Regions from separate parts of the Homo sapiens genome. Here region 2 is linked to region 1. Evidence: promoter capture Hi-C in 16 types of primary human blood cells and fetal thymus (Javierre and others, 2016). All regions are on one chromosome and are shown on one strand. Each heading gives the region's core, a stretch centred on a gene start or on the middle of the fragment in contact. The rest is flanking DNA. Distances are from core to core; before and after follow the strand shown. Region 1 holds the start of ZFP2 (ZFP2 zinc finger protein). Region 2 overlaps ZNF354A (zinc finger protein 354A).

Evidence for each region. The method cuts DNA at HindIII sites, captures the fragments that hold promoters and counts their contacts. A CHiCAGO score of 5 or more calls a contact.
Region 2: a contact is called between a fragment that was not itself captured here and the fragment with the promoter of ZFP2 in region 1, in 1 of 17 cell types (activated CD4 T cells). The highest score is 5.8, in activated CD4 T cells.

What each region holds. Positions count from the first base shown.
Region 1 is chr5:178,892,432-178,897,217 of GRCh38, reverse strand. It overlaps ZFP2 (ZFP2 zinc finger protein), which reads right to left and starts at 1,305. Exons shown (of 5, transcript NM_030613.4): 1 at 1,244-1,305. RefSeq lists silencers at 1,063-1,112, 1,183-1,292 and an enhancer at 1,403-1,592. The HindIII fragment of the contact is 12,652 bases long and covers 1-4,786 here.
Region 2 is chr5:178,716,940-178,721,834 of GRCh38, reverse strand. The region is part of intron 4 of ZNF354A (zinc finger protein 354A); the gene reads left to right. Among named protein-coding and RNA genes, the nearest start is that of ZNF354A, 11 kb to the left of the region's middle. The HindIII fragment of the contact is 527 bases long and covers 1,157-1,683 here.

The DNA of each region.
Region 1 (4,786 bases), core at 56-2,555:
GCAAGTGTTTATATAAACTGCAACTTTTCTGGAGGGAATAAGACAGGAGGTATCAAAATCCTTACTGTACCCTGGACCTAGAAATTTCACTTTAAGAGATTTATAGAATAAGACAAAATGCAAAGATGTATGTAGCCAGATGGCCTATACTGTTTATAATACTGAAAAAAAAAAAGAAAAAAGAAAACCCTAACACAAAAACCTAAGGAGAGGATTCAATACGACACATCCATACTTTCCCTCACACTCATTAAAATGACGTAGCTCTATTTAAAATCTGGTATAAGTAGATGGTGTCAACATATTCCAATGTTTTTTTCAGATGTATTCTCTATCTTCATTGGGTGTTTAGGCCAGTAAAAAATTACAAGGCTTAAGATTTGTGCACTTCAAACCCCTTACCAAATGCATCTCATGACTCAGTTTTAAAAGATAGATGGAGAAAAAGCTGCTAATATTCATATTTCTGTTTAAAAACAAAGTACAAAGTGTTTCTATGCTTATACACATATCCACGCTGCCATGCAGATGGAGATAGATTTTGAATGATTGTTTTAATCTCAATTTTCCAGTTGTGCTACAGTGAAATCGCTTAAGGAAAAAAAGAAAAGATTCCCCGAGGTCGAAACCTGCACCAGGTTGGCCTCCCCATTCTTATTGTGAGATGGGAGGGGAGCCCACGCCAGCGCTCTCGGAATGAGATCCAGAGGGCGGGTCCGGAGACCCGGTTTACACAAAGGGCAGATGCTGCACAGGGAGACCCAGCCTCTGGCCCAGAATCCCCGGGATGTCCGCGGGTTAGGTTCGCTCCACGGTCGCAGCGTGTCCCGGGACAAAGCTGCGCGCGGCTGGGGAAAGCCAGGGAGGAACCCGGGTCCGAGCGACTCTTGGAACCTTGGGCCCCTCCCTGACCCGTGGTGGCCGGCGTGGCCCTTGTTCGAGCCCCCATCCCCGCTGCTCCGGGGCTGTGATTCCACCTCGGCGCCTGCCCAGGACAGCGCCGAAGGACACTCAGCTGCCAGCGTGCTCCCGCCGCCAGCTCCTGGGGAAGAGGGAGCGCACCTGGAGCCGGAGGCCCGGCGCTCCACAGGCGCAGTGAGGCCGCACCCCCGGCCCATCTGCTGCGGGCCCGCCCCTCAACCCTCAGGAAGCTGGGGCCTCGCCCCGCAATCCGGAGCTCCTCCTGCGGGGGCCTACAAGACTCACGGATGGCGCGCGCCCCCGCCACCGGCCCCGCACTCACCCTCTCCCAGCAGGAGCGGGAGCAGCGGCGACCGACACAGCCGCGACCGGCGCTTACAGCCCGGAGCGCCAGACTACATTTCCCACAAGGCTGCGGGGCTGCAGTGCGGCCAGGCCGTCGGCGTGTGCGAGAACGGGGCCCCAGAGGGCAAGGCTGTGCCAGTGGCCAGCTGAGGTGGCCCACGGTGTGGCCTCTGCAGGTCATCGGTGTGTCCAGGCGGGACGCGGGGTTCCCAGGCGGCCCCTTACCCCGGCTAAAGTCGTCTCTCTGGCCAGGCCTGCAATCTCAGCACTTTGGGAGGCGGGTGGGTGAATCACCTGAGGTCAGGAATTCAAGACCAGCCTGGCTAACATGGTGAAACCCTGTCTCTACTAAAAATACAAAAAAAATTAGCCAGGCGTGGTGGCGGGCACCTGTAGTCCCAGCTACTCGGGAGGCTGAGACAAGAAAATCACTTGAACCTGAGAGGCAGAGGTTGCAGTGAGCCGATATTGCGCCACCTCACTCCAGCCTGGGTGACAAGAGCAAGAGAGTGTCTTAAAAAAAAAAAAAAGGCATTAATTTACCAGCAAATAAAATATTTTAAACTTTTATGTATTTAATAACATAAGATACAAAATACATAAAGCAAACATGGGCAGAACCCATTTTTAATTTTGTTTTCTTTCTTTTTTGTACAGATGGGATCTTACTCTGTTGCCCAAGCTGGTCTCAAACTTCTGGGCTCAAGCAACGCTCCTGCCTTGGCCTCCCAAAATGCTGGGATTATAGGCGTCAGCCACCACCCTGGCCTCAGAGTTTTTAACCTACCTTCTCAGTAACTAATAGAAAAGCTGACAAAAAGGTCACTATAGATATGAAATATTTGAAAAGCAAAATTAGTTTTATGTTAATGAATAGACATGTAGACTACTCCACCCCAAAACTGAAGAAAACACATGGAAAAGCATATATTTACTTAAGAAATGATCTCATACTAGTCTGTAAAGTAGCCTCAACACATTTCAAGCAATTGGTATCACACAAGACCATATTCTTTGACAATGTAATTAAGCTAAACATTTTTTAAAAGACTAGAAACTTTTTAGAAAAGATTTAGGTAAAGGGAATATTTAGAGGAAATTTTGCAGCCTTCAAAGCATACAGTAAAGAAGAAAAGAAGGCAGATTGGGTACAACACATCTAATTTTGTTCCCTCCTAACACGTACTGATATAGTTCAGGACACACACACTCACTGCCAAAATATGGCACCTCATCATTTGAGAAAACAGCAGAAACAGGAAGGACTTTTCCACACATCTCCCACGAAGCAGGTTGTAAAACCTAGGAAGAATTTCCTAACGTCCCCTGAAGCAGGTCGTAAGATTCTCATGTGAGATTTGCACTCCCTATACCTGGAGGAAAGTAACATCTTTATTGCTGAAGACACACAGTCACAGAGAAAACTCTTGAACAAACAGGCCTTGCTAAGTTGCCCCCAGTGTATTACTATTAGATCATATCCTCTTTGTCCATTTATATTTCTCTGTGACTTCATCAAATTTAGCATAAAAATACACAACTTTAACTGTTTCTTTGGGACTTCATTTCCTTATGTAGGCTGCTGTGTCATGTAAAACTTGTATTAAAGAAACTTGTATGTTTTGCTCTTGTTAATTTGTCTTTTGTCTTAGGGGTCTCAGCCACCAACATAGGACGCGCAAGAAAAATGTATTTTGCCTCCTCTGTACCACTAAAAGCAAATGTAACAGATTGTTTGAAAACTTGTTAATTCACAAGGTCAGGAAAAACAAGTAAGGACACACCAGCAACATTTTAAATCTTGGAAACGGATGTTATTTTCTTGGCAAACCTGAAATAATGCCAAATCCCAGAGAGCTGTAAGAAAGGTAAAGGCCAGGCTGGGTACAGTGGCTCATGCCTGTAATCCCAGCACCCTGGGAGGCCGAAGTCAGGGGATCACTCAAGACCGCAAGTTCCAGGACAGCCTGGGCAACATGGCGAGATGCTGTCTTTACAAAAAATAAAGGTAGGAAGGAATGGAGTCTCTCTACTGTTTTGTGCAAATGTAGTCGGGTTTATGATCAGAACTGCTGTTATGTACAATGCTGCTAACCTCCAAGCCTTGGAGGGAAAAGGTTAAGGATGAACTTTCTGTTCTTGGGCACACAACCAAAAGGCCTGGACAATGAGAAACTTTTTCTGGACTGGTTCCACTAATGCTTTTGTCCGTGAAATCACGAAGTACCTTGCCAGTAAGGGACTGCCCTTGAATGTTCTTTTGATATTGGACAATGACCCTGGTCACCCAGAACCCATGAGTTCAATGTCAAAGGCACTGAAGTGGTCTACTGTATTAATATCAGATAATGTGGACTTTGTAGACAAAGAAAATTGAGACAGGAAAATTACATAATGATAAAAGGGCTAATCTACCAAAAAGTTATAGCAGTCAGTTTTTAATTTTTTAAAATGTTTCGTAGAGACAGGATCTACCTATGTTGCCCAGACTGGTATCGAACTCCTGGCCTCAAGTGATCCTCCCACCTCAGCCTCCAAAAGTGCTGAGATTACAGGCACATGCCACCATGCCCAGCTTTGTTGCTGTTGTTGTTGTTGTTTTTTGAGACAGTCTGTCGCTTTGTTGTCCAGGCTGGATGCAATCTCGGCTCACTGCAACCTCCGCCTCCCAAGTTCAAGCGATTCTACCTCACCTGAGTAGCTGGGATTACAGGCACTAGCCACTGTGCTCGGATAATTTTTGTATTTTTAGTAGAGACAGGGTTTCACCATGTTGGTCAGGCTGGTCTCGAACTCCTGACCTCAAGTGATCCACTTGCCTCAGCCTCCTAAAGTGTTGGGATTACAGGCGTGAGCCACTGCGCCCGGCCTAGCTTTGTTTTTTTCTTTCAAATTCTACAGCAGGCTTAAAAATGGTTTATGTTCAAACATTACAATACTAAGGGATTCTGTATCTATGTATTTTTTACCAGAGTCTTTATATTTTCATAGTTTCATGTTGTTATTACCTTTCAATTTAAAGAATTCCCTTTAGCATCTTTTTGAGACAGGAGTCTGTCACCCAGGCTACAGTGCGGTGGTGTGATCTTAGCTCACTGCAACCTCCACTTCCCAGGTTCAAGGGATTGTGCCTCAGCCTCCCACCTAGCTGGGACTACAGACGCCCACCACTACACGTGGATAATTCACATAATTTTAGTAGAGATGGGGTTTCACCATGTTGGCCAGGCTGGTCTCAAACTGCTGACCTCAAGTGATCCCCCCGCCTCAGCCTTCTGAAGTGCTGGGATTATAAGCATGAGCCACCTTACCCGGCCAGATCTCCATTTCTTTAGGGTTGGTTTCTGGAGGTTAGTTTCTTTTTATTGGGATGTGTTTCACTCTTTCTTTACAGCCTTGTGATCTTTTGTTGAGACTTGACCACTTGAAAAAAACAGTCCCCTCCAGCAGTCTCTAAGGATTGGCTTTGTGTAAAAGAAGACCGTCATCATTTAGCACAACTAGAGATTCTGGGATTGTC
Region 2 (4,895 bases), core at 171-2,670, 180 kb after region 1:
TTTAGGTGTGTTGACTTTGAGGCATCTGAACTGCTCTTTTGAGTAGGTCGTCTGTAAGGGGGAGTCGAGTATGGGAGATATCTTGCTTAGAGGATGAGTCTATGATTGAAGTTGCCTGTGGAAAGATGCAGAGTGAGAAGAACTGGGGGCCTAGAACTAAAGCTAAGGCACTCCAAGGATGATAAACTGTGGTACGTCCACACAGCTGTAAAGTGGAATGAGGAGGACCTCTGTAACTTCTACTATGGAGTGATCTCCAGAATGTGAGAATAAGTGCAGAACAGCACAGTTAGTACTGTTATCTAAGAAAGGTGGGTGGGAATACCAAGAAAAGTGTGTGTGTATTTACTTACACTGTCATGGAGCACATAATGTTTCAGTCAATGATAGCCTACATATATGATGATGCTCCCATAGATGATAATACTGCATTTTTCCTGTCCCTTTTCTATGTTTTAATATGTTGAGATGCACAAATACTTACAATTGTGTTACAGTAGCCTACAGTATTCAGCTAAGTAACATGCTGTATAGGGGTATAGCCTAGGTGTGTAGTAGCCTATACCATCTAGATTTGTGTAACACACTCTGATGACTGCACAACATCGCCAACAACGCGTATCTCAGAACATATCCCAGTCATTAAGCAGTGCAATTATTTTTTTTAGAAAGATAAAAGCAAAAGAAAAAAAAGGAGATCAATAAAAATGGTTATCTCTAAGGTGAAGGAAGAAAAAGGATGGAACAGGGGTAGAATCTATGACTTTTTGAGGTCTCAAAATTTTGACTTCAGAACTATAAAAATGGTTTATAAAATTATAAGACAAAATTAAACAAAAATGAGAAAGTACCCCCTACATATTGAAAGCAGAATGAAACAACCCTAATTGTGTTCCAGGTTGGTGGCTTAGCCACAAAAAGAATTATTTGAATTGCCTTTACATTGCAGCAGTTTGACTTATTAGTGTAGGTATTCTAGGGGCAAAAGTAACTGCAAGCAGTGGTGTTAATTTTGATGGATGTGCTAAGAGCGGTTTTGATGTTTTTACAGATGAAATGATTTTGCTGTCTGGGATGTGCTCTAGCATAACCTAGTGGACGAGATGAAAGGGTTTGTGTTAGTTTGCTAGGGCTCCATACTGAAGTACCACAAGCTTCGTGGCTTAAAACAGTAGAGATTTACTGTCTCACAGTTCTGAAGGTCAAAATCAAGATATTCGCAGGGCCCCGCTCCCTCTGAGACTCTGCATAGAATTCTTCCTTGCCTTTTGCTAGCTTGTAGCGATGGCCAACTTGGAGATCTCCGTGGCCTGCAGCTGCATCAGTCCTATCTGTGCCTCCGTCTTCACACTGTGTTCGCCCGGTGTCTTCACATCATCTTTCCTTCTGGATGCCTGTGTCCAAATTTCCCCAGTTTACGGGGACAGCAGTCACGCTGGATTAGGGCTCACCCCAATGACTTCATCTTAATTTGATTGAACGTGCAAAGACCATATTTTAAAGTAAGGTCACGTTCTGAGGTCCTGGAAGTTAGGACTTCTACGTCTCTCTTTTGAATGATGCGGTTCAGCCCATAACAAGGTTGTCAATAGAATAGTGTTGCTGGTTATTGAAACTGGCTGGAGATTCACTGTACAATTCACACTACTTTTACATATGCTGAAAATTTCTATGTTAAAAGCTTTAAAAATAAGAGTTACCACAACAACATTTCTAAAACAGCTTTTCTCTTTTCCACCAGCACAAAGATGATAGAGGATGTTTACAAATAGGCAGTACTACCCCCATCATGGTTTATGTGCAGTTCCCAGCAGATTGCTCCTTGAGTTCTCTGACTCTAGAAAACCTTGTGAGACTGCAAATGCAAGTGACATTTTTTTTTTTTTTTGAGACGGAGTCTCGCTCTGTCGCCCAGGCTGGAGTGCGGTGGCGGGATCTCGGCTCACTGCAAGCTCCGCCTCCCGGGTTCACGCCATTCTCCTGCCTCAGCCTCCCAAGTAGCTGGGACTACAGGCGCCCGCCACTACGCCCGGCTAATTTTTTGTATTTTTAGTAGAGACGGGGTTTCACCGTTTTAGCCGGGATGGTCTCGATCTCCTGACCTCGTGATCCGCCCGCCTCGGCCTCCCAAAGTGCTGGGATTACAGGCGTGAGCCACCGCGCCCGGCCGCAAGTGACATTTTTATAGGTGGAGCTTTTACTCTGACTAGCTATAGGATAAGGTGGGGGTGGATACTTCAGCAAATAAGTCTGGAAAACTGACTTGCATTCAAAGACTTGGGTGCTGCCTTCAGCCCTTGTGCTACCCCTTCATCTAGCCTATGGCGATTCCTTTCACATCCTATCTTATATGTCAATTCTTACGAAACACTCCAGCAGCGTCCTGCTGCACCCCTTTTCTACCTGCACCCTCACTATCTAAGGACAGTTGGATATGATTCTAAGCTCGTGTTCACGTCCATTTCTAGCTTATGTTTCTATTGTAGAAATTGTCACATTGTATTGTGATTACCTACTGATGTCTTCATTTCTAATGTCTGACTATAAACTCTCTGAAGAAATCAACTGTTCCTTTTAATTACTGGATCCGTAGGGAACTGTGGATCACCGATGCCTAGGATAGAGCCTAATACATAGTAGGTACTTTTTAAATATTTGATAAATTAATAAAGTAAGGCGTGACCAATGCTTTTTGAAATAACATGACCAATTCTGTGTATTAAGAGGGGTAAATCCAGTGGGAAATAATACTGGAAAGGCAAGAAACAGGTCAAAGGAATAACTTAAGATCAGGAGCAAGTCACTCTACAGTGAGGAGATCCTGAACTTAGACATATTCACGATGGCTTATTAGAGACATTTTAGTGATGAGATTTAAGAGAATGTGCAGCCTGGGCAACACAATGAAACCCTGTCACTACGCAAGATAAAAATATTAGCCAAGCTTGGCAGTGTGCACCCGTAGTTCCTGCTGCTCAGGAGGCTGAGGTGGGAGAATCGCTTGAGCCCTGGAGTTTGAGGCTGCAGTGAGCTATGATGGCACCAGTGCATTTCAGCCTGGGCAACAGAGCAAGACCCTGTCTCTCAAAAAACAAAAAAATGAAGATTTTGATGACTGCCTAGGGAAGAGAAATTCTAAGATAAAACTAAGAATTTACGGTAAATTAACTGAAGAGATGATGGTGTCATTTTGAACTGGAAAACATATAAAAAAGGTTTGAAAAGGAATGCTCTGGGTTCAGATTTGGACAGGCTGAATTTAAAAAGAAAGATACACAAGTGGAAATTCTAACCGGCAGTTGGAAAGACCTCTGTAAAGTATTTTTCAGGATAGTCGTACACATAAGAGGTGTGGGAGTAAATGAAATCATCCAGGGAGATAGGGTTGAAGAAACACTCTCTGGGTGTAGTGAGAGTCCAGGTGGAAGAGTCTAGACCTGATAACAGGAAGTGGTCAGGGCAGTGGCCATCAGCAAGATGATTCTGGCTTCTCAACTTCTGACCTAGGTCTTCACCTTGTTTAACAGGTAGCTGAGGACTGGGCTTGATTCTAGGAGGAAGCAAAGGTTGAACTGCACCTCAGGAGACCTATTTGTAGGCCTCTAGAAAGTTCTAAACAGATCATAAGGAAGAGTCAGGATATCCACAATCCAAAACTTACGTCTGCTTCTGTGAAAAACATGATTTCAGGACTAAAATATTGGCACTTTAGAGTTGGGATGAGTTTTCCAGAATTGATAATGGACTTCCGAGTCGTAATCATATCCATTAAAAAATAAAAGCTCCCCATGTCACATTTGCTTACTCTCCTTTAGAAACTGTTGAAAAGGGTTTCTGCTCTTGATGTTTCTATTTTCTCACCTCCCATTGTTTCCTCCATGCACTCCAGCTGGGCTTTCTTCCTTATAATTCCACTGATAGCTCTGTTATTAAATCCCAAACAACCTCCGTCTTGCCACAATCAGGATTAAGTTTTTAGTCCTCAAATTATTTGCCACAGTTATTCACTCCTCCCTGAAGTACTTCTTCCCTTGGCTTCTGGAACACTGTACTCTCCTGATATTATTCTTCTTAACCTCGTAATATTTCAGTGTCTAAGTGATTCCTTTCAGTTCTTCAGCTTTAAATCAAACCCACATGCTGCTGACCCCCAAATGCCTGTCTATAGCTCTGACCTCCCCCAGATCTCCAGAATAATAAATACAATCTAGTATTTCAGTATCTTCCTGCAACTCTATTAAGGCATCTCAGCCATCACAAACATACCAGAAACAGAATGCCCCCTCAGCCTTGCCCCTTTCCTGGTCTTCCCCTTCTAGCCTTGCCCCTTTCCTGGTCTTTCCCTTCTTGGTGGTTGGTGGCAGCTCTCAGAATTCTGGCTAGAAACCTAGGCATGATCCCTAACTTTCCTGTTTCCCTCTCAGCTTCCTGGGAGTCCTGAGTCTTGTTATTCTTGGTCCCGCTAGCTCTTCCTTCACTGTACAGCCTGGCATAGTCATCTGTACCTCCAGCCCTTTCTCACGTGAAGAGCTGCAGTAGCTTCTTCAGTAGCCTCTCCCCTCCCTGCTTCCACTGGTGCCCCAGCGTAGTCGGTCCACGCAGCAGCCAACTCAAATGAACACATAATTCCCCAGTGGCTTCCCGTAGGCTTAAATTCCAGTCCTTAGGATGACCTGGGCCTTAGAGGATTTGTCCCCCACCTCCTGCTCCACTCTTTTGTTTTTTATTTTTTGTTTACTTTTTTTTTTTTTTTTTTTGAGATGGAGTCTCACTCTGTCGCCCAGGCTGGTGTGCAGTCATGTGATCTGGGCTCACTGCAGCCTCTGCCTCCTGGGTTCAAGCAATTCTCTGCCTCAGCCTCCCGAGTACCTGGGATTATGGGCGTGTGCCACCAC